Regions from separate parts of the Homo sapiens genome. Here regions 1, 2, 3, 5 and 6 are each linked to region 4. The links are contacts of gene promoters, found by promoter capture Hi-C in human tissues and cell types (Jung and others, 2019). All regions are on one chromosome and are shown on one strand. The core of a region is centred on a gene start or on the middle of the fragment in contact, and the rest is flanking DNA. Distances in the headings are between cores, read along the strand shown. Region 1 overlaps BTBD9 (BTB domain containing 9). Region 2 overlaps BTBD9 (BTB domain containing 9). Region 3 overlaps BTBD9 (BTB domain containing 9). Region 4 holds the start of ZFAND3 (zinc finger AN1-type containing 3). Region 5 overlaps BTBD9 (BTB domain containing 9). Region 6 overlaps GLO1 (glyoxalase I).

Region 1 (2,700 bases), core at 73-2,572, 620 kb before region 4:
GTATGGACAAAGAAGGTCCAGCACTTAGTGATCAGGTACCCAGTGTGAAGAACTGGGAGAAGCCTGTTAAGAAGAGAGCACAGTGACCAAAGGCAAGAGCAGATTAGGTCACACTGATGCAGCCTGTAGAGGCAGGAAACCACTTAAGCAGGGGAATGACACAAGCAGATTTGTATCTTTCAAAACCGCTCCGTTTTGAAGAATCATACCCCTGGGCAGAGGTGTGGAGTGGATTAGAGGGAGCTCAGAGTGGATGGGGAGACCAGTAAGGAGACTGTTTAGTAATTTTGATGAGAGAAGAGATGCTAGCTAGGAGGCTAAGGTCGTAGCAACAAGGGCAGGAGATGTAAATAGATTTGAGAGATTTAGAAGGAAGCCAGTTTAGGACTTGGCGATTAATTGGATGTGTGCATGTGGGTAAGAGGTGGAAATGAGTGAGCGAGAGAAAGAGAGAGAGAGACAAAGAGAGTGTGTTCAGGGCCAACTTCCTGATTTCTGGCTTGAGCAGCTGCCTGCTTGCTAATCCCTATAATGAGTGAGAATGGTGGAGAAGCTATTTTGGAGGAGAGAGGAAGTGGTAGCACTGTATGCCCTTTATAGTGGGAAATTGGGAAATACGAGTTGATATGCCAGAATAAGGGGAAAGTGAGACAGGGGCAGGGCATGCATTGTGAAATGAACATGAAAACACATGACAGAAACAAGTGAACAGTTAGGTGATAACACATCTGTAGGCATTGAGGTGTGGTAAGTTGAGCCAGGGAAAACATATTCTCACCCCTTCACCTAGAAGCAAGACCAGCCTAAACTAATCTTAAGTGTGTTATATATTGGCTTCAGAGGACATTTGTCTGTCAGTGTCAGGGTTTCAGTCTCTGTTGATTCCCCTCACAGCAGCCTGAATTTTTCTTCTCTGATAAAGTTAGTATAGAATTCTAGCTTTGTTTGTTAAATTGTTCATGTGGTCCATTGTGTTACAAAGTCATACCACCACAATCCATTTGCCTGCCAAGTCAATACTTGCTTCACAAACATAGCAGAAATTAAGATGATTCTGTCTAGCTTGAGTTTCTTACAATTTTTTTTTAAAAAATCCTTGATCCTTTTATGTTTTAAGAGCACAAATGGGCCAAGCGCGGTGGCTCACACATGTAATCCCAGCACTTTGGGAGGCCAAGGCGGGCAGACCACCTGAGGTTGGGAGTTTGAGACCAGCCTGACCAACATGGAAAAACCCCTATCTACTAAAAATACAAATTTAGCTGGGTATGGTGGCACATGCCTGTAATCCCAGCTACTCAGGAGGCTGAGGCAGGAGAATCACTTGAACCTGGGAGGCAGAGGTTGCGGTAAGCCGAGATTGCACCATTGCACTGCAGCCTGGGCAACAAAAGCGAAACTCCATCTCAAAAAAAAAAAAAAAAAAAAAAAAAGAGTACAAATGAGTCTGTTCTATATGACCTCCAACTTTCCTTCTTCACAGGAGGGACATCTGTTGTTAAACAGTGTGGACTGGGTGAAGCTTCTGGGGTCATCATATTAACTTCTTTGGGTGTATTCTTCCTCTCCATGTACTTAGTACTTCTGTTTTTATTTTAAATATATATATAGTACGACTTTTTTTTGAGATGAAGTCTCGCTCTCTTGCCCAAGCTGGAATGCAGTGGCGTGATCTTGGCTCACTGAAACCTCCGCCTCCCAGGTTCAAGCCTCCCGAGTAGGCTGGGACTACAGGCAGGCACCACCATGCCCAGCTAATTTTTATATTTTTAGTAGAGACGGGGTTTCACTATGTTGGCCAGGCTGGTGTCGAACTCCTGACCTCGTGACCTGCCCGCCTCGGCCTCCCAAAGTGCTGGGATTACAGGTGTGAGCCACTGCACCCGGCCCAGACTCTGTTATTATAGGAATTCACAGACAAAATGTTGCCCCTACAAAACAGCAATGGAGCCTAACAAAAACTGTCTCACCAACATCAGCATTATGAAGGCACTGTGATTTTGTTATATGTATTTCTGTGCAATCTAGTACTGGGAAGCTATTCTCTCTTGCCGCAGTTTTGCCTGGTCCCTTAAAATAGGAACTTTTACCATCTCGGGAATTTTGGGAGGAAGGCTTCATGCATCAGAGAGGGGCTGTAGAACCAGACTGGGTTATCTCTCAGCTCTGTACTTTCTAGTTGTATACCTTTAGGTATAACTGTATGACTTTAACTTTTGTTTGGGCCATATGTAAAATTGGACTGTTGATAACATCCACTTCATAGGTTGTTGTCAGGAATAATGAGGTAATATATGTAAAGCACTTAGAATAGTATCTGGCACCCAGTAAAAGCTCAATAAATGCCAGCTATTATTGCTTTCTTAATATCTCTCAGAGGCTGGGTGTGGTGGCTCATGCCTTTAATACTAGTGCTTTTGGAGGCCAAGGTGGGAGGATCACTTGAGCCCAGGAGTGTAAGACCAGCCTGAGCAACAAAATGAGATCTGTTTCTATGAAAAAAAATTTTTTTTAACTAGCCAGGCACGGTAGCGGGTGCCTGTAGTCCTAGCTACTCCCGAAGCTGAGGTGGGAACATCTCAGATGTTCAAGGCTGCCGTGAGCCATGATTGGCTCGCGTTGTCCAGCCCGGACGACAGACTGGGACCCCCTCTCTAAAACAAAAACATCTCCTAGGATAAGGTGATAAGTTTCTTCTCT
Region 2 (2,700 bases), core at 172-2,671, 800 kb before region 4:
TGAATGGTCATGCAGGGAGTATGTTTGCCATTACAAAACCCAGACTGTGAAGCAGGGCGACAAGCCATCTGAATGGAGCTGTTTGGGTAACTGGGAAGTTACTATGATCAGTTGGGGCTTGAAGTTGTAGGGTGTAATTACACTGATGGGATAGTAGGTGCCCCAGGGGCAGGCCTGATAACAGGTTGCATTGGATGCATAAAGGGGCTTGGAAAGTTAACACGGTGTTCGTGGTTACAGGGCCATGTATAGGCTTTTCATTGCTTGTGTAATAGGTGAGGTTGGAAATGTAAGAGCATAAAAGCTGGATTGCGTATCCTATTAGGGTATTTTTGGTCCTATCAGAGATGGGGCCTGAGGATTGTGGCCTCCAGGTGCAGTGAAGGTAATATTGTATCCCTAGTGCCCTGGAAATTCCCTAAGTTACTGTGGCTTTAAAAGCTGGACGATTGTCACTTTGTAAGCTTTGGGGAAGCCCAAATCTAGGAATTATTTCATGAATTAGGACTTTAACCACTTCCTGAGCCTTCTCTGTCTTGCAGGGGAAGGCTTCTATCCAATTTGTAAAGTTATCAACAGGGACTAACATAGTATTGAAATCCCCTTGACTTAGGCATATGGGAGAAGTCTAACTGCCAGTGCTCCCCGGGATAGTGCCCTATTCTTTGTTGCCCCAGAGGGGCCTTACAACGGACCGAGGGATTATCCTTTGGCACACCTCACAGGCTTTGACTACTTGTCAGATGGTCCAGAGGAGATTTGGCCTTGTAAATAGGGATTTGGCCATTTGATGAGTGTTCTTAATACCCATATGAAAAGTTTGGTGGAGGGACTTAAGTATTTTCCACTGGCTGGCTTCGGGTATGAGTACCTTCCCCTCTAATGTCGTTAACCACCCCAGGGGGAGAAAACTATGCCCCTGTGAAAGTCCCCATTCTGTTTTGGTCAGGGAATACTGGGGCTTAATCTCTTGGACAGGGTTGTTCCATACCAAGGGTCCTTCCATAGGTATTTCTGTTGGGAGGTTCCGCCTGGCAGCAATTTTGGCCTCAGCATCTGCCCGACGGTTTCCTTCTGCCTTTTCTCTTCACCTTTTTGATGGCTTTGGCAGGGTATGACTGCCACCTCCTTGGGTTTTTGTACAGCATGCAGTAACTCCATGATTTCCTTGTGGTATTTATTGGGGGTTCCCCCAGATGTTAGGAACTCCCTTTCTTTCCATATTGCAGCATGGGCATGTAGGATTAGATAAGCGTACTTGCTATCTGTGTTCACATTTATTCTTTTTTTCTTTCTCAGTTCTAAGGCTTGGGTAAGCACCACTAGTTCTGCTAACTGGGTGCTGGTCCCTGGGGGAAGGGGCTTGCTTTCAGGTACTGTTACATCACTAACTATGGCATAACCTGCCCTTCGCATCCCATTCTCCACAAATGAACTTCCATCAGTATATAGGTTAAGGTCAGGATTAGCTAAGGGGACTTCCAAGAGTTCCTCTCAGGCGGCATAAGTCTGGGCTACAATTTGTTGGCAGTCATGCTTGATTGGTTCCCCATCCTCTGGGAGAAAAGTAGCAGGGTTGAGGGCCGCACATGTGCGTATTTGAAGCACTGGTCCCTCAAGGAGTAGCCCCTGATATCTAAGCAGGTGGTTGTCTGATAGCCATAAATTTCCTTTGGCACCTAGTATGCCATTTACATCATGAGTAGTCCAGACAGTGAGATCCTTTCCTTGTACTATTTTGATAGGCTCTGATATTAAGATGGCCACCACCACAGCTACCTGTAAACAGTGAGGCCAGCTCTTTGCTACTATATCAATTTCCTTAGGTATGTCACTGGTTGTGGGGTTGTCCCGTGAGTCTGAGTAAGGATTCCAAGAGCTATTCCTGCTCTCTCTCTGGCATATAAAGAGAAGTTTTGTCCTGTGGGAAGGCTTAAGGCTAGAGCTTGTACTAGGGCCTGCTTTAAGGTTTTGAAGGCTGTTTCTGCCTCTCGTTCCCTTTCTACTAGATGACTATTTGCCCTCTGGGTCTCCTTGATTAGAGTATAGAGTGGCCTGGCCATCTCACTGTATCCAGGGATCCATAGTTGGCAAAAGTTGGTGATCCCAAGGAACCCCCGCAACTGTTTTAATGTCTTAGGGCGAGGACAAGCCAGTATAGGCTGTATTCGTTCTTTGCTGAGGGCCCTGGTTACTCTGGCTAAGCTTAGGTCTAGATATTTGACTTGTTGTAGGCAGAGCTGGGCCTTCGGTTTAGATGCTTTGTACCCTTGATTAGCTAGAAGGTTCAGGAGATCTAGAGTAGCCTGCTGGCATGAGGCTTCCAAACTGGTAGCCAAAAGTAAATCATCCACATACTGAAGGACCAGAGTGCCTGGACTTGAGAAGTGGCCTAGATCTTGGGCCAATATCTGACCAAACAGATGAGGGCTATCCCTAAACCCTTGAGGCAAAACCGTCCATGTAAATTGGGACGTGTGGTCTGTGGGATCCTCAAAGGCAAAGAGAAACTGGCAGACAGAGTGCAGGGGAATGCAGAAGAAGGCATCCTTCAGGTCCAAAACAGTGAACCATTCCACTTCCTCTGGTATTTGAGAGAGCAGGGTATAGGAGTTGGGTACAACTGAATGTAGAGGAATTACTGCCTCATTGATGAATCTAAGATCTTGCACTAGTCTCCACTGACCTTTTGGTTTTTGT
Region 3 (2,700 bases), core at 186-2,685, 710 kb before region 4:
TTATGGTTGTCTTCCCTTGTTCCCTAAAAATCGCTGTTATTCTGTTCTTTTTCAAGGTGCACTGATTTCATATTGTTCAAACACACGTTTTACAATCAATTTGTACAGTTAACACAATTATCATAGTGGTCCTGAGGTGACGTACATCCTCAGCTTATGAAGATAACAGGATTAAGAGATTAAAGTAAAGACAGGCATAAGAAATTACAAAAGTTATTATTTGGGAACTGATAAATGTCTATGAAATCTTCACAATTTATGTTCCTCCGCCGAGGCTCCAGCCAGTCCCTCTGTTCGGGGTCCCTGACTTCCCGCAACATGTGAGGTCATGTTTTCCTGGATGGTCTTAATGCTTGTGGGTGTTCATCAGAGTCTGGACACTGAGATTAGGTATTTGTTGTAGTCTTTGCAGTCTGGGCTTGTCTGTATCTGTCCTTCTTGGGAAGGCTTCCCAGGTAGTCAAAGGGATCTAAGTCTTTGGTCACTGCAGCTATATCTGCTTTAGGGGGCACCCCAAGCTTAGTAACACTGTGGGTCTTGCAGACTCATAGAGGTACCACCCTGGTGGTCTTGGGTAATATCCAAGAGAATTTCTTGGATTACCAGGTGGAGACTCTTCTTTTCTTTCCCCCAAACAAATGGAGTCTCTCTCTGCTGAGATGCCTGGAACTGGAGGAGGGGTGATACAGGCTGTTAATTCAGACCTGAAGCCAGCTTAGCAATGGGTCTTTCCCAAGCCCCACAGTGACCACTGCCTGGCTATGGCTGATGTTCATTCAAGTCCCAAGGGCTTCTCAGTCAGCTTGTAGTGAATGCTGCCAGTCCTGAGTCTCTTCCTTCAGGGCAGTGGGCTCCCTTCAGGACCAGGACAGGTCCAGAATTGCCACCCAGGAGTCAAGGCCTAGAACTGGGGACTCCAGGAGCCCACTTGGTGCTCTATCCCACTGTGGCCAACCTGGCACCCAAGCTGCAAGACAATGTCCCATTTACTCTTGTCTCTCTTTTTCTTAAGCAGAAAGGATCTCTTCCTGTATCCACCACAGCTGGGAATGTGGTGGGTCACACACCTGAAGCCAGCACAGCTCTTAGTCTTACCCAAGGCCCACAATGAGTACTGCCTGCCTGGCTATTCCTGTTAATTATTCAGGGCCCAAAGGCTCTTTAGTCAGCAGGTAATGAATTCTGCCAGGACTGGGTCCTTCCCTTCAAGGCAACAGTTCCTTTCTGGCCCAAGATGTGTTTAGAAGTGTCATCTGGGAGCTAGCACCTGGAATGGGGGCCTCAGGATTCTGCCTGGTGCCATATTCTACCATGACTGAGCTGTTATCCATGTTAAGACAAAATACTCTTCCTTCTCCTCTCCTCTTCTCAAACAGAGGTAAGAAGTCTCTCTGAGAGCTGCGAGCTGTGCTGCTTGGGATTGGGGGAGGGGTGTTGCAAGCATTTCCGTGGCCACCCTGGCTTGTGTATCACTGGGTCACGTGCCCCCCAGGTCCACTGGCTTCGAGCCCAGCACAGCACCAGGACTTGCATAGACATTTAATTCCTTGTGGTCTAGACTGCCTTTCCAGTTCATTGAAGGCCCCGGAACACTTTAGCATGTGGTGGCAGGGCTTGCCAGGACTCAGGTTCTGAGCCCTGGGGTGGGCAATTTCTTTCTGGCTAGGGCTGGTCTAAATGCTCCCTCTGATAGGTGCCAACTGAGTTCTGCCCAGTGCTGCTTTCCACTGTGACAAAATAGCACTGAGTTCCAATGCAAAGTCCCACAGTCACTACACTCTGCCTCCCTCCAAGTGCACAGATTCTCTCTTTGTGCCACATGGCCATGGCCACTACTGGGGAATGGGGAAGGGATGTTGTAGGTGATTCAAGACTGTCTTTCCTACCCTCTTCAGTGCCTCTTTCCTTAATATAATATTATTATGATCACTTACCTGACTCTTCATTCTTATGAAGGGGCTTTTTTTATGTGGATAGTTGTTAAATTTGGTGTTCTTGCTGGAGGGATGATCACCGGAGGATTCTGTTCGGCTGTCTTATTCTGCCTTCCTATTTCTGATTTTCATGAGAGTGATTTGTCATGATTAAAAAAAAAGTGGGAATCATGGTGATAGAGTCTTTCCTTTCCTAGGAAATTGGTTTCTGATTATGATTCTGACTTATATTGATGTGGTTTAACTACAATGTAGAATGTCCTTGTATTAGTCCCTTTTCACACTGCTGTAAAGATACTATCCAAGACTGGGTAATTTATAAAGGAAAGAGGTTTAATTGACTCATAGTTCTGCATGGCTAGGGAGGCCTCAGGAAACATACAGTCATGACAGAAGGGGAAGCAGGCACCTTCACAAGATTGCAGGAGAGAGAGTGAGCAAGAGCAGGGAAAACTGCCTTATAAAATGATCACCTCTCGTGAGAACTCACTCACTATCATGAGAACAGCATGGGGGATACTGCCCCTGTGATCCAGTCACCTCCCTCCCTTGACATGTGGGGATTACAGTTTCCTCCCTTGATACATGGGGATTACAATTAGACATGAGATTTGGGTGAGGACACAGAACCAAGTCATATCATTCTGCCCTGGCCCCCACCAAATCACATCTTTTTTTTTTTTTTTTTTTTTTTTTTTTTTTTTGAGACAGAGTCTCGCTCTGGAGTGCAGTGGTGCGATCTTGGCTCATTGCAACCTCTAACTCC
Region 4 (2,700 bases), core at 147-2,646:
TCCATACTTCTTCCCAAGATGTCCTCACCAGAAACAATCTTCCTTCCTGCCTCTATGTCTCCAAATATACGGAATCTCTCAAAAAATAAAACTAAAACAAAACGATAAAAGAGAAAAGGGACTCAAATCACAAAAGCCAGCCTTCAAAGTCTCCAGCTTTCTTACTGCAGAACTACAGTCATGTGGTATGATGGAGGCACCTGTTAGGTGGCAATCCATGAAGCTTAAAGTGTTACCAGGAGAATTTAAACAGTAATGGGGGGAGGAAGAGGAGCTGATTTCCCACCTCACATTTTTTTCGCCTTAACACATGATGGCCAAACAATATATGCTACCCACTGTCAACATTTTTATCATTTTTACTTAAATTGAGAAAGAGGAGAATTTGAGAGCCAACTGAGGAAACTGGATCTCATATTCCCCAATCCAGGCTGACTTCAGGTTTTGTGTGGTTTTTTTCTTCCTTTTTGACAAGGAAATTTTACATATCTCCTGAAACGTGTTTTACATGAAGGTGAGACCTCAACAATCTTATAACTTTACCCCAGCCTGGTTCTGGACTCGGTTTTTACAAACGGGTGACGTGTGAATAGCTTCCTAAAAGCAAATGGGGCACTGGGATATAATCTAGGAAGTGATGATGCAAGTCTCCGGAGGACGGGGAGGAGGGGAGGTGAAGAAGTCAGAGGAAATACCCTCCTAGTGCCTGGGCACCAACTCACGCCCCGGGAGGGAGGAAGGGCTGGCTTCCACATGCCCACGGAAGGGGCACCCCTGCTCCTCCCGGAGCGGTCAACGCCGCCCCCTCATCCCTCCCCGCCGCCCTGCCCCCCTCACCCGTGGCCCAGGAGGCCCCCGTGGGCCCGAGCTTCAGGCCGGCGAGTCCCAAAGGGTAGCAACGCACCCCCGGCAGGGCCTTCTCTGCCCACCCCCAGCTCCCCACCCGGCACCCCTCCCCGGAACGCGACCCCCACCCCCTCCCCGTAGGCCCGGGCTGGGCCCAGCCTCCAAGGTTCCGGCCTCCCGGGCCCCGAGGCCTGCCCAGGCTGCCCTGGCGTCTGCGCCCCCGGCCCCCGCCCCCCGCCCCCACCCGGCCGGGCACTTACCCCCAGAAGCCGCAGGGACAGCGAGGCGGCAGGCTGGGCGCTTTGCTGCGCTCGCTCCCAGCGTCTCCCATGGTGCTCGGCGGCGGCGGAGCTCGGCGGCGGCAGCGGTGGCGGCGGCTGGGCCCGGGCCCCGCTCTGAGGAGGCGGTGGCGGCGGCGTCGGGGGGCTCGGGGCGGGGGGAGGGGGAAGGAGCGGGCGCGCGGGCGGGCGCGAGTCCGGGGCTCGGAGCCGGGATTCCAGGCCGGTCAGCTGGAGGCGGGCCGCACCACTCGGCCTGCGGAGACGGGGAGGGGGCGGAGAGGCGCGGAGAGAAGAAGGAGGGAGCCGAGGAGGAGGGGCGTGCGGACGCACCGAGGACCGCGGGGGAGGAGGGACACAGACGCCCTCGGCGGGTCTCACCGCCGCTCCCCAGCCAGAGAGATGTCCTGTGCGGTGGCGCAGGGAAGGACCGGAGCCCCCCGCCGGCTCCGGAGTCGCAGCGGCCGCTCTGAAGCCCCGGGCCCTGCTGTCTCCGTAACACCGTCCCCTCCCCCGGAGGCTGCGCTGACCGGACAATGGCCGCTCCGCCCCCTCCCCGGCGTGCGCCCCTCCCGAGGAGTCACAATGGTCTCGCCCGGGGGAGCCAACGCCAAAGCCCAGCCGCTGATCAGCTGGGATCCGGGCGTGCCACTTCGTTCCGCGCCTCAAAGGCGGAGTGCGGGGCTGTGGGAGAAAACGAGAGCCTCGGGCTGTCGCCCGGCGACGGGCGGCTGAGGCCTTCGTATTCTTAGAACTTTTAGAATCTGAAGCAAACTTATCTTCCCCCTGTCTGAAGAAGGGGAGCAGGTTTCTGAGTACTCCGGGGCGCGGTGCCTCCCCCTAAACGCGAATGGTGCGCTCCAAGCGGGAGGGGGAGGAGCAGATTAGTTGTGTAGGGTAAATTGGGCCAGTCCCAGAGTGGCGGCGCATGCGCCCGTAGAACCCGTAACCGAGTGCGAGGAGGGGCCTGGGGGAGCAATGCCAAACGCGGAAGTGGAGCTCTGGCTTCCCGGGGGCGTCGGAGTCAAGGTCCCTGGAGCTGCCGCTCTGGCTCCTGGGCGATTCCGGGGAGCCATTCTCCCCAATTTGCCAACTCCCTGGGCATCTCTCTCTCTCTTCCTGGTCCCGCCACACCCAAACAACTCTTATAGTTCCACCCGGTATACTGGTCTCTTGACAGGAACTTTTGGGAAATGCCCCTCCCCCAGCCCCTTGTCTGGGGCAACTTCCTTGTCTCTTCTCCCCCACCGGTGTTGGGGAGTTCCTTGTCTCCACTCCCAACCACAGAGCCACAAGTACATTATCTATGCCCAGGCGAGTCCCTATGCCCAGGCTAGGAGAGCCGCACTTCTTCCTACAGCTGACACGTTTGGTTTTTGGAGGGGAAAGGGGAGCTGTAGCTGAATCAGTAATGGAAATTGGTAAGTGACCAAAGAAGTTTGAGACACTAAAAAAATGAGTCCTTTAACGATCCTAGTCCTTGATCCTGAGCTCATTCTGATCTCCAGTTAGTCATGAACAGAGAAATCGATTATTGATGACTAATTCAACACGGAGGCAACATCCTCCAGACCTT
Region 5 (2,700 bases), core at 16-2,515, 640 kb before region 4:
TCATAGTTAGGTGACAAACATAAAATATTTCATTAATTACTAAGTTATCCAGCCTTTAAAAAAACCCAGACTGTGGGGCCGGGCGTGGTGGCTCACACCTGTAATCTCAGCACTTTGGGAGGCCAAGGTGGGCGGATCACCTGAGGTCAGGAGACGGAGATCAGCCTGGGAAACATGGTGAAACCCCGTCTCTACTAAAATACAAAAGTTAGCCGGGCGTGATGGCAGGCGCCTGTAGTCCCAGCTACTTGGGAGGCTGAGGCAGGAGAATTGCTTGAACCCAGGAGGCAGAGGCTGCAGTGAGCCGGGATCACGCCACTGCACTCCAGCCTCGGTGACAGAGCAAGACTACGTCTCAAAAAAACAAAAACAAAAACAAAAAAAACCCTAACTGTGAAATGATTAGTAACACATTCTGTGGGTTGGCTGAGTGTCTATATGGTATGTGAAGAAACATTTCTTTTTGTTTATTATAAATTCACTAGCTATTAGTGTAGGGGTGTCCTATTGTTCTTATATTACACCAGTAAATTCTTTTTTCTCTTGGAAGGGGAAATAAATACGCAACTGCGGTGTGCATAATGATGTTCAGACTAATGTTGTTACTAACCACAAAACAAATAGGAATGTGTTGTCAGATTCCTGGGTAGAAATGACATAAGGGGCAGACTGGTTTGATCATTTCTCGGATCCAGCTGTTTGATGATTGCTGTGATATTGCTAAATTGGAAAGGAAGAAAACACAGAACTTAAATAGACAGTACAGAGAAACTCATGTATTACAGAAATGTGATGTTTACATTTTCTTACTGCCTAAGGTTTAGATGCAGATCCTTGGAAGTTTAGTGTTGTAACAGAGAAGTCTGTTAACTTAGGTGTTAAAATATAAGCAAACAGATTATCTCCCCGAAATAATTGTATTAGCATTGACTTCCCACTCTGTTAAATAGACTGTTTTGCTAGGATTTTCTAATTGAAATTTATATCATAAGCTAGCTTGAGATGATCTTCTAAAATGATGAAAGAAATGAAATAATACAAAGCTAAAACTCTGTTCTCGTAATGTTGTAAAACCACGGTAGACAAATCAATTCTGGAGGTCACAGTAAGAAATAAAATGGCTCTTTTAAAATCAAAGGCTACATATTGACTTCTACTTTAAAATAAATGGTCTTTGCAAATAATTATACTTGCAAATTAAATGTACCTGTGTGCAGTGTGAAGTGGGTTTTTTGAGCAAATTATGAACATAATTTTTAACTGTGAAGGTGTATTGGTAAGGATAGGCTAAGCTGTATTGTAATAACAGCAACAAAAACAAAATCTCAGTAACTTAGCATAACAAAAGTCTATTTCTTGTTGACATTACACATCTGCCATAGGTCAAGGATTCTGTTCCTCGTAGGCTCTCAGGGACTTAGGCTAATGGAGGCTCTATCCTCTTATAGCTGTACTATCTGGAACATGTAGCTTCCTTCAGCACTGCAGCATGGGAAGCCAGAGTTGATGATTCATACACCAGCATTTACATTTTTCAGCATGAAAGTGGTATGTTCTTCAACTCACAACCCATTGGCCAGAACCAGTAACATGACTTCACCTAACTGCAAACTAGCTGGAGAATTGTGGGAGAGCTCATGGATATTCAGTGATAAATGTCTTTGTTATAAAAGGGTGGTCATAGCCAGGCACATGGCTCACGCCTGTAATCCCAGCACTTTGGGAGGCCGAGGCTGGGGATCACCTGAGGTCAGGAGTTCGAGACCAGCCTGGCCAACATGGTGAAACCGTGTCTCTACTAAAAATACAAAAATTAGCCAGGCGTGGTGGTGCGCACCTGTAATCCCAGCTACTTGAAAGGCTGCGGCAGGAGAATTGCTTGAACCCAGGAGGCAGAGGTTGCAGTGAGCCGAGATCACACCATTGCACTCCAGCCTGGGCAACAGAGTGAGACTCTGTCTCCAAAAAATAAAAATAAATAAAAAATAAAAGCATGGTCAGACTTTTATATAGCATGAATTACGCTTTGCCTGGCATCTTTGAAATAATACCTTTAATAGAACATTTGATGTCATATAATTAAAGTATTCAACTGGCAAAGATGCTCATAAAATGGCCTTTTTTTGTCATACTTAAATTTTTTGTGTATTCTCATTTGTTATAAGGAGGGGGGAAACAGAATCAATATATTCTTCAATTTACCATTATTCATATAAGTGGTACTTTGCCATTTGCCATTTTTCAAATAATCCAGATGACCTTGCTTCTGACCACAAAGTGAGATTTTGTGTGTGTTGTTTGTGTAGAAATATGTTGCTACAGTGAAAACTCACAGTATATTTTGAAAACTGCTAGAATGATGTCAGGTATCTTTGGTTAGTTCTTCCTGTTAGGGATCTGTCTATTCTAGTTTTTGCTGAGTTATGATGTTACATTTTTCCTTCCAATAAAGCTAGACTGTTGAGGAGGGGAATCTTATATCATGATAGGATTATCCTGAGCTTTTGTTTAGGCTATTTTCTAAGCCTTTTAGGGAAGGCTATTTCCTGAGTCTTTTGGGAGGACAAATCAAATGTGGAAGGAATGTAGGGCAGCAGTGCAGGGACTACTGGGTCCTTTTGCGTTTTTAGGAACATGAGGAGTTGTTCATACTCAGATTATCAAATAGAAAATATTCAGTCTCAATTTACCCTGGTTATC
Region 6 (2,700 bases), core at 83-2,582, 870 kb before region 4:
TTGGTAATAAATGGTAAAAGTGAAAGATGTTTAATATAAATATTTTTCCATAGGATTTTCTATTGCAGCAGACCATGCTACGAGTGAAGGATCCTAAGAAGTCACTGGATTTTTATACTAGAGTTCTTGGAATGACGTAAGTCAAGTACTTATTGGCACCTTAATGTTTAAATATATAGCTTTGCAAATCTAGAGAGTGTTTTCAGACCCATCTTAAAGTTTGTTTCAGAAGTAACAGAAGTTCTTTTGGCCAGGAGTCTGTGATTAGGCCTGGCTGGACAGGGCTTCTCTCGTAAGTTCTTTTTCTTCTCTATCCCAGCCAGCCTGAAAGGGCAAAACAAGACACAAATAGTTGCATTTTCTCCAGTCTGCCTTCTCTGAGCGCTCCCAGCTAAATCCTTAATGTGTTCAGACCCCTTTTGATGTTCTGGCCACTTTTAGCCTCTTGTTTACTTCAGAAAAGTTATAGATAATAAGAACTTACTACTCAGAAAACCAATGGGTTTACTTAAAACTGACCATCTGTTCTATTTTTCTAGGCTGTGTTTTCTTTTGCTCAACAGGTCATATCCACTGATCTTGCAATCCTAAAGCATACTTATTTTTCTAAAGCATGTTTATTTTTCTTTTTTTCTCCAGCTTTACTGAGGTATATTGAGAAATAATTTTGTCATATTGTTGATTTGTTTCCCTAAGTTATGTGAGCATTTTGCTTTTGAGCATATAGATACATGAATAATAAAATAATCTTTAAATTTAGTGCCTAGATAACTTCCATTCACATTGAGAGAAAAATTTAAGTAATATATGTCTATATTTAGAAAATTTGACCAGTTCAGAAAAATACAAAATGAAAAGTAATAGCTTCCCTCCCCAAGTTCTTCTCCCCAGAGATAACTGCTGTCCAGTTTCTTGTGATTTTTTTCTAGAAAAAGGTATTATGAATATATTTATGACATATTTAAAGGACAAAATGAAAACAGATTTATTGAACACTTTTGCCAGGCACTTCAAATGTTATTTTGTTCAGTCTTCACACCAGTCTTAGGAGGTAGCTTTTATCCCCATTTCACAGACGGAGAAACCAAAGCTTAATGAGATGAAGTTACTAGCTCCAAATCCCACAGTTGGCATATGGCAGGGCTGGAACCTGTATCCATTGTCTGATGGGCTCTAATGTAGACTTCCTGTGCAGAGCCCCCAAATAGGGTACAAGTTGACAGTAAGCTGGAAGATTTGAACAGCTGAGAAAAGCAAGTTGCAACAGTTTCATTTCCTTCAGTCCCAACTGATTGGTCCATGAGGGTTGTGTAGTCTGCTTTAGTAGGTGCAGAGATTGTTTTTCATGATTGGAGTATTTGAGGTGTTTGATACTTTATTATAAACATGTTAGAGTAAATCTTATTTGTGATAAGTCAATGCAAGGATCTAAGTGGGCCAAGGTCTATTATATAGCAGTGATAATGAAATAAAAGATTGGAAGCAGAACTCTAGAAACTTTCCATTTGCTATATGGCAATAACAGCCATTTGCTCTTATTGATTATGAACAAAGTCATCTTTGAATAATCTAAAGAAAATCATATATGCATTCTCATGCCACCTTACTCCTTGCCAAATAATCCTATACCATTTAAAGTCATTTAAGGTTCAGGACTTCAGTTATCTTTCTTAAAACCTCAGGATTCATAATTCATTCACTCTCTCTCCCATCAGTCTCTTCTACTGTCTCTTTCCCCTCAGAGAAGCGTAAGTCTTCTTTGTTCCAGAATATTTCTTGCCCTCTGCTCCTTCGCCTACCTCCCCATTGTCACTGCCATGCTTGCTACTGTTTTACCTGCTCACCTGCCATTCTCTCTCCCCAGTACAGTGTAATCCAGCTGATGCTTCCCCACTCTGCTGACATTGCTCTCATGGGACCTTTCCATATCTCATGACCTTTTCTTAGTCTTAATACTGTTTGACCTTTCTACAGTATCTGATACTGTTAGCCACCTTACTGTTGACATTCACGTCTTCTGTGATACTAGTCTGTCCTTCCTCCTTCTTTCTTACCACCTATCCTTAATTTCCTTTCCTAGATGTTTTGGCATAGTAAGAACTCAATAAATGTGTTTATTTAACTGAATGACATATTTATATATGTGTTTGTATGTGTGTATATATATGAAATAGCAACAAGGTTCTTTATATTTTTCAGTACAAATAAACACAGTTCTCTTTTGGAGATAGCCGTTTCTATTTATTAACAAGTACCATAATTTCAGCTAAATGTTACTATATTTACAGAATTGATGAATTACAGAAGTTTTCATTTTTGTATTTCAAATATTTACAGATGCATTTTTCATGATATTTTTTCACTGATTTTTCCTCCTGCTTATTCCATTAAAATAGGCTTACTACATATAGCTCTTCTTTTTAGTAAAACTTGAATATTAAGTTATGTTGATTATAGTATGAATTAGCCTTTCCTGTTGTTAATGATTCAGGCTTGTTGTTTTTTCATTGCAGGCTAATCCAAAAATGTGATTTTCCCATTATGAAGTTTTCACTCTACTTCTTGGCTTATGAGGATAAAAATGACATCCCTAAAGAAAAAGATGAAAAAATAGCCTGGGCGCTCTCCAGAAAAGCTACACTTGAGCTGACACAGTGAGTATGAGTTTCTATATTTATATATATTATAGATTTTTTAAGG

Evidence for each region. The method cuts DNA at HindIII sites, captures the fragments that hold promoters and counts their contacts. A contact is called where the count stands out against the background at its distance.
Region 1: a fragment that was not itself captured here is called in contact with the fragment with the promoter of ZFAND3 in region 4 in 3 of the 25 tissues and cell types used here (adrenal gland, pancreas and thymus).
Region 2: a fragment that was not itself captured here is called in contact with the fragment with the promoter of ZFAND3 in region 4 in 1 of the 25 tissues and cell types used here (aorta).
Region 3: a contact is called between a fragment that was not itself captured here and the fragment with the promoter of ZFAND3 in region 4, in 4 of the 25 tissues and cell types used here (dorsolateral prefrontal cortex, lymphoblastoid cells, mesenchymal stem cells and 1 more).
Region 5: a contact is called between a fragment that was not itself captured here and the fragment with the promoter of ZFAND3 in region 4, in 2 of the 25 tissues and cell types used here (hippocampus and mesenchymal stem cells).
Region 6: a contact is called between a fragment that was not itself captured here and the fragment with the promoter of ZFAND3 in region 4, in 1 of the 25 tissues and cell types used here (lymphoblastoid cells).

Annotation. Positions count from the first base shown.
Region 1 is chr6:38,441,395-38,444,094 of GRCh38, reverse strand. The region is part of intron 6 of BTBD9 (BTB domain containing 9); the gene reads left to right. Among named protein-coding and RNA genes, the nearest start is that of BTBD9-AS1, 39 kb to the left of the region's middle. The HindIII fragment of the contact is 4,862 bases long and covers 1-2,700 here.
Region 2 is chr6:38,620,185-38,622,884 of GRCh38, reverse strand. All of the region lies in intron 1 of BTBD9 (BTB domain containing 9), which reads left to right. Among named protein-coding and RNA genes, the nearest start is that of BTBD9, 18 kb to the left of the region's middle. The HindIII fragment of the contact is 3,822 bases long and covers 1-2,700 here.
Region 3 is chr6:38,527,202-38,529,901 of GRCh38, reverse strand. The region is part of intron 6 of BTBD9 (BTB domain containing 9); the gene reads left to right. Among named protein-coding and RNA genes, the nearest start is that of BTBD9-AS1, 47 kb to the right of the region's middle. The HindIII fragment of the contact is 8,466 bases long and covers 1-2,700 here.
Region 4 is chr6:37,818,423-37,821,122 of GRCh38, reverse strand. ZFAND3 (zinc finger AN1-type containing 3) reads right to left here and starts at 1,396. Exons shown (of 6, transcript NM_021943.3): 1 at 1,107-1,396. The coding sequence starts at 1,177. ZFAND3-DT (ZFAND3 divergent transcript) reads left to right here and starts at 1,736. Exons shown (of 2, transcript XR_007059569.1): 1 at 1,736-2,545; 2 at 2,633-2,700. RefSeq lists silencers at 770-939, 1,100-1,329, 1,370-1,749 and enhancers at 1,028-1,830, 1,800-2,189. The HindIII fragment of the contact is 25,591 bases long and covers 1-2,700 here.
Region 5 is chr6:38,458,299-38,460,998 of GRCh38, reverse strand. All of the region lies in intron 6 of BTBD9 (BTB domain containing 9), which reads left to right. Among named protein-coding and RNA genes, the nearest start is that of BTBD9-AS1, 22 kb to the left of the region's middle. The HindIII fragment of the contact is 4,329 bases long and covers 1-2,700 here.
Region 6 is chr6:38,684,328-38,687,027 of GRCh38, reverse strand. It overlaps GLO1 (glyoxalase I), which reads left to right. Exons shown (of 6, transcript NM_006708.3): 2 at 54-136; 3 at 2,514-2,654. Among named protein-coding and RNA genes, the nearest start is that of GLO1, 17 kb to the left of the region's middle. The HindIII fragment of the contact is 8,095 bases long and covers 1-2,700 here.